2 separate regions of the Homo sapiens genome follow, and region 2 is linked to region 1. The links are contacts of gene promoters, found by promoter capture Hi-C in blood cells and fetal thymus (Javierre and others, 2016). All regions are on one chromosome and are shown on one strand. Each heading gives the region's core, a stretch centred on a gene start or on the middle of the fragment in contact. The rest is flanking DNA. Distances are from core to core; before and after follow the strand shown. Region 1 holds the start of DENND3 (DENN domain containing 3). Region 2 overlaps PTK2 (protein tyrosine kinase 2).

What was found. The method cuts DNA at HindIII sites, captures the fragments that hold promoters and counts their contacts. A CHiCAGO score of 5 or more calls a contact.
Region 2: a fragment that was not itself captured here is called in contact with the fragment with the promoter of DENND3 in region 1 in 2 of 17 cell types (erythroblasts and endothelial precursors); the score reaches 7.6 in erythroblasts.

What each region holds. Positions count from the first base shown.
Region 1 is chr8:141,127,339-141,130,038 of GRCh38, forward strand. It overlaps DENND3 (DENN domain containing 3), which reads left to right and starts at 1,251. Exons shown (of 23, transcript NM_001352890.3): 1 at 1,251-1,471. The coding sequence starts at 1,370. DENND3-AS1 (DENND3 antisense RNA 1) reads right to left here. Exons shown (of 2, transcript NR_183310.1): 1 at 2,686-2,700. RefSeq lists enhancers at 1-678, 1,512-2,342 and a silencer at 797-1,656. The HindIII fragment of the contact is 7,380 bases long and covers 1-2,700 here.
Region 2 is chr8:140,670,180-140,673,337 of GRCh38, forward strand. All of the region lies in intron 32 of PTK2 (protein tyrosine kinase 2), which reads right to left. Among named protein-coding and RNA genes, the nearest start is that of AGO2, 36 kb to the left of the region's middle. The HindIII fragment of the contact is 1,896 bases long and covers 709-2,604 here.

The sequences.
Region 1 (2,700 bases), core at 1-2,500:
CCTCAGCTCACCGATGAGAGCCACCGATGGTAGGCAGCCTCCAGGCCTGGGGGAGAACCAGCAGATCCTCACCATCTTTAGGTTAATAAGTGAAATAAAACCTGTGAGTCAGGCTGCAGTCACGGCCTCACCCGGCTCAGGGAAGGAGGGAGAAATTCCTCAGGGCTCCCTTTTCTGATGTTGCCTTGCTTTGTACTTACTGTTCCTTTTCCTGTTCAGCTGATGACAGATGTTTGACATTAAGCATTTTAGAGTTTTGTTTTTTAGAAAATAGAATCATAGATTATCAGAAGTGGAAGTCCCTTTGGAATAATTTCCCCTGGGTTACACAGATGGCTATGGCAGGGTCAAGGGAGGGGACGGTCAGCGGGGACTGAGCGCAGGCCCCCTCCAGGCTCTGCAGCAATGACCAGGCAGCAAGCCGGCCTCCCGGGCTTGTGGGCTGTCCTCTTTCTCTGGGGTCAGCCTGAGGCTGGAAGAGGCCCGTGGCCCACCGGGCATCAGGCCAAGCCTGGAGCTGACCAGGGAAGGGCCCTGCCAGGCCTTGGGCCTCTGACCCTCAGTCCTGAAGCCTCCCTCTAGCGGCGCCCACCCTGCTCCTTTTCCTGCTGAATTTTACTCAAGTCCGTACTTGAGTATGGCCGGCCCTAGGTTAACCCCGCAGAGTTATTAACCAGGAGTGGCTCTTTCCACCCCCCCTTCCCGCCGGCCCTTCCTGCTGTCCACACCCGGCCAACTCCACTGTCCTGGCAAGGGAGGGCTTCCTGGAGGCGGCAGCGGGCGGCGCGTCCGGCCTTTGTCCCCCCACGCTCTCCAGGGTAGGTCCAGGGACTGCCAGATCAGGGGACCCTTTGCGTCCTGGAGCCTTGGGGGCTGGATGACGTCGCCGGGCACCTGAGGACCCCGCCCATTCCTCCCTCGGTTCCCCAGGGAGCGGGCGGCCGGCGGGGCTGGGCGGGGCCGAAGGAAGGGGCCGCTTGCTCCGACGCCGCGCACGCGCCAGGGCCCGCAGGCGGGTTAGGAAATGACGACCGCGCGCGGGTCTCCAGCAGCACCCGCCCTAGGACCGGCCCCGCCCCCAAGTCCCGGTCCCTAGGGCCGGGCACGCCACTCCAGGCCCCGCCCAGAACCTCCCCGCCCAGTCAAGCCCCGCCCCCAAACTCTGTCTCCCCGCGGTATCCTCTGGGGCTCTCCAGGCCCCGCCTCGGCTCGGGCCCCGCCCCTCCAGGCCCCGCCTCCAGCCCCGCCCCGCAGACGGCGCTCGCAGCGCCCCCGGCCCCCAGGCGGCGCGGCTGGTCCCCAGGGGTCTGCGGGCGACTGCGCGGCTGAGGCGCCCGAGTGCGGTACTGGCGGCGGGCGGCGGGCAGCCATGGCGGAGGCCGCGTCGCCGCACTTGTCGCTGCCCTCGGGGCTGCTGGAGCTCTGCGCGCTGCTGGGCGCCCCCCGGGACAGTCTCCGAAGTCTCGAGCAGGTGAGGGGCGGGGAAACTGAGGCGGACGTGGGCCACGAGTCGGCAGCCGGGACAGCAGTCGGAGAGCGGGCGCCCGGGTGCCCTGTGGGTTGGCGCGGACTTTCCGAGGGCTGAGTCCCGGTCCCCCGGCGGTGACCCCGCGCGCCTGTGGCCGGGGATCGCGCCCGAGCTCAGGCAGGTGCCCTGGAGCAGCGCCCTGCTCCCCTCCCCTCTTCTCTCCTCTCCCCGCCCGGGGCCCTTGGTGTGAGACATGTCTTTTGAGAGCTGCGAACTTGGTCCGCCGGCCGGGAATCTGGGGGTGCCGCCCCTCGGAGAGTCTCTGGGGCCTCTCTCTTCAGTCGCTCCCATCTTGGGCAGGTGCTTCTGAAGGTGGGGTGCACCAGACAACGGGCGGAAGCCGCCGGAGCCTCACGGTCTAGCGGGCCCAGCCCTCGCTGCTGAAATGATTTCATTCTTTATGCTGGGATGTGTTGTCCCCTGAGTAGTGGGTTTTGCACCAGGCACAGAATAACGAGAGAGCAATCTTAGAGTTAGCCGCCGGCCTCGCGTATTCTGCATGAACCCCTTTGCGATGAAGCCTATAGCTATTTTTCTCCCTTGCGGTACCACCCCCACCCCCAACCCTTCCTCCATCTCTGCACCCTCGCAGCCAAAGTGACAACTTCATCTCCCTTCTGCTGGGAAAGCGGCAGTTTTGGAAATTCTCGTTTTCCTTTTTCTTCCCCAGCTTTTCTTAATTCTGTAACGCTGGCTTTCCCTGGAATCCATCTGTGTCTCTGGTTTCCTCCTGGTCCGCCTGTCTGTGACACCGTGACTGGGTCATGTTACCTAGAGATCCCGGCGTCACTGGCCAGCCGTCTGCACAGGTCCGTTCATCTCTTTGCAGACAACAGCATAGAAAGGCAGAGAGGCTTCTGAGTATTTAAATGACGCTGGGCTATCCAGGGAAAATGAAGACTGCAGGGCAGAGGGTGTCACCAGGAAAGGCAGATGTTCCTGCAAGTAACCAGATGAATGTCTGTGAGTGTCCGGGGAGTTTCCCCTGCTGGGCGTCAGTACCAAGCCAGTTTCGACTTCAGTGAAAAAGCATTCTCCTATGGAAATAGTTTCCTCGTTTCCCTCAACTTTTCCTTCCCTTCAACGCCCTGTCATGTCAGTAGATCCCGTTTGACCTCTGTCTCCTCGCAACGTCATCGATTGATTTGTCTCCCTACCTCGAATTTGCCAGA
Region 2 (3,158 bases), core at 407-2,906, 460 kb before region 1:
TTGAGATCCACTTCATCATCTAGCCATAATGCTATCATAAAGATTCCTGACTTGGGGCTGAGTTTAAAGATATTAGGCCCAGCCTGGCCAACATGGTCAAACCCTGTCTCTACTAAAAATACAAAAATTAGCAGGGTAATGGTAGTGCATCCCTGTAATCCCAGCTACTCGGGAGGCTGAGGCAGGAGAGTCATTTGAACCTCGGAGGCAGAGGTTGCAGTGAGCTGAGATTGTGCCACTGTACTCCAGCCTGGGTGACAGAGCGACACTGTGTCTCAAAAAAAAAAAAAAAAAAAAAAAAAAACAACAACACACACACACACACACACACACACACACACACACACACACACACACACATTGGGAGCTTATTTTAAAAACAAAAAACAAAAGTAGAACAGAAACCCCTTTTTTGAGCTGATTCTTATGATTAGGTTCTACTACTTGAAACTGAACAGTTTTATTTAATGTGTTTTCTCTAAAGCTCAAGCCAGGGCGCTATCCTACTATAACCACACCATTTCCAAGAGATGACTTCCTGTATTTTATTTTCTGCACTGAGAGTCACAGTGTGGTCTTCTGTTTAACTTCATAGGATGTACCAGTTCAAACTACATCAACAGGGCTTCTTGAGGAGGGGGCCACAGGGTGTTTCATCAAGAAGAAATAGACAATTCTGTAATTCTAGGGAGGTTGTCACCTGTTTAAAGCTTCTGTTCCTTTCTACTTTACCCTTTGCCCAATTATTGTGGTAGAGGGGCACTGTCATAATGCTTCTAGGGACCATTCACAGTGACATTCCAGAAGGGAAAGCTGTTTGGAAAGACATCCTAATGGTTTTCTATTTTCTGGAGCTTGACAACTTGGAAGCTCCTTGGCAGGCAGTTGATAAACCCTCTATAGATGTAGCCAATTCCAACCACTTAGGTTGATGCTTAAAGACTCAGTTAAGAACCAAAATGCAGTGCTACCTAGGAAAAATTGAGACTGATTTTGGCTGTTATTTGGATGAATTATTTTAGTTATACATAAAAGTAAATATTTTAGTATTAGTTTTTTTTAGGCAGAATCTCGCTCTGTCGCCCAGGCTGGAGTGCAGTAGTGTGATCTCAGCTCACCACAACCACCGCCTCCTGGATTCCAGCGATTCTTGTGCCTCAGCCCCCTGAGCAGCTGGAATTATAGGGTCACACTACTATGCACAGCTAATGTTTGTATTTTTAGTAGAGACAGGGTTTTGCCATGTTGGCCAGGCTGGTCTGGTACTCTTGGTCTCAAGCAATCCACTTGCCTTGGCCTCTCAGTGTTGGAATTACAGGCGTGAGCCACTGTGCCTAGCTGCATTGCAGTATTAGAACAATACTGTTCTTTTAGGATGGATTCAATGACCTCTACCAAGCAGACAATGAAGAAACAGAGGTGTATATTTCATGTTATTTAAAAATCTACTTAGGTCGGGTGCGGTGGCTCATGCCTGTAATCCCAGCACTTTGGGAGGCCGAGGCGGGCGGATCACAAGGTCAGGAGATCAAGACCATCCTGGCTAACACGGTGAAACCCCGTCTCTACTAAAAATACCCAAAAAAAAAAAAAAAAAAAAAAATTAGATGGGCCTGGTGGCGGGTGCCTGTAGTCCCAGCTACTTGGGATGATGAGGCAGGAGAATGGCGTGAACCCGGGAGGCGGAGCTTGCAGTGAGCCAAGATCGCACCACTGCACTCCAGCCTGGGCAACAGAGTGAGACTCTGTCTCAGGGGGGCGGGGGGCGGGAATCTTTACTTAATATATTTTAAGTACACATATTATTTTCAAGATTTCAATTTGCTTCATACCCTATCCTAATTGTATGTATTCATTATGTTATTCCAGCTGTGAAAGATGTTTCATAATGATGTCAGAATTCTAAGGTGGTACCGATCTACCTGTAAAGTTGGTTTTTCATTGTAATACAAGCCATTTTGAAAGTCTGTTCTTTTGGCTTATGAAAATAAATAATTCATTAATCTCATTCTGTCCCCTTTTCTTTTTTTAAAGAGATGGGGTCTCACTATGTTGCGCAGGCCAGATTCAAACTTCTGGGCTGAAGTGATCCTCCTTCCTCAGCCTCCCGAGTAGCTGGGACTATAGTCATAGAGGTGCGCCACCATGTCTGGCTCCTTTTTAGAAATTTATTGAAAGAAGCCAATATTGGGAAGGGTGTGTCCTTCCTCAATTTTCCTTGGAGAAGACTCAGTGTGTCTTTAACAGAACTGTCAGGAGGCATCCTGGGGCTTGGAGGCCTGGTGAACTGAGGAAGTTCCTGATTCCCAGGCACTTAAAAGCCACTGGCATGAACTCTGGGCACCAACCCTAAGGGCAGAGGCATCCCTAGCCCAGTTGGTACTTTCACTATGGCCACAGAGGGCAGGCTTGGCCACAGAGAGCAGGCTAGTTTGTGCCAGTGGCTGCCCATTCACCCTCTGGTCACCTCCTCAATGAACACTGGCAAACCTGTGCCCTCTAAGCTGCAGGCTATCCCTCTGGGCCTGGAGATGACATTTTTTCTTACCCTGGACTAACTTTCTGATGACTCTGAGAAGACAACAATGTATCTACATCTAACGAAGCTTCAGCTTTGGAGGCGAGTGCCTTTGAGTCAAGTATGTGCTCAGCCAAGCCTGCGGCCAAGCACAGCTCAGCTATGTGGAGGCTGTGTAACCTTGAACAAACTGCTTAATCTCTGTGAGCCTTGGTCAACTGAGAAATGATACCACCACCAGTCCTGTGAGGTTCACATGAGAACTGATAATACATGAAAAAGGACTGCCACAGAACTTGGTAAAGGGATGACAGTCAATAAATGGTGGTTATTGGTAAAGCAAAGTTTATCTTAACCTGATATGACATTTTTCGGATTTTAAGATGTCTTCCACTATAAGATGCATCCTTTTTTTTTTTTTTAACCTCGAGACGGAATCTTGCTCTGTCGCCCAGGCTGGAGTGCAATGGCATGATCTTGACTCATTGCAACCTCCACCTCCTGGGTTCAAGTGATTCTCCTGCCTCAGCCACCTGAGTAGCTGGGATTGCAGACATGCACCACCACGCCCAGCTAATTTCTTTGTATTTTTAGTAGAGACGGGGTTTCACCATGTTGGCCAGGCTGGTCTTGAACTCCT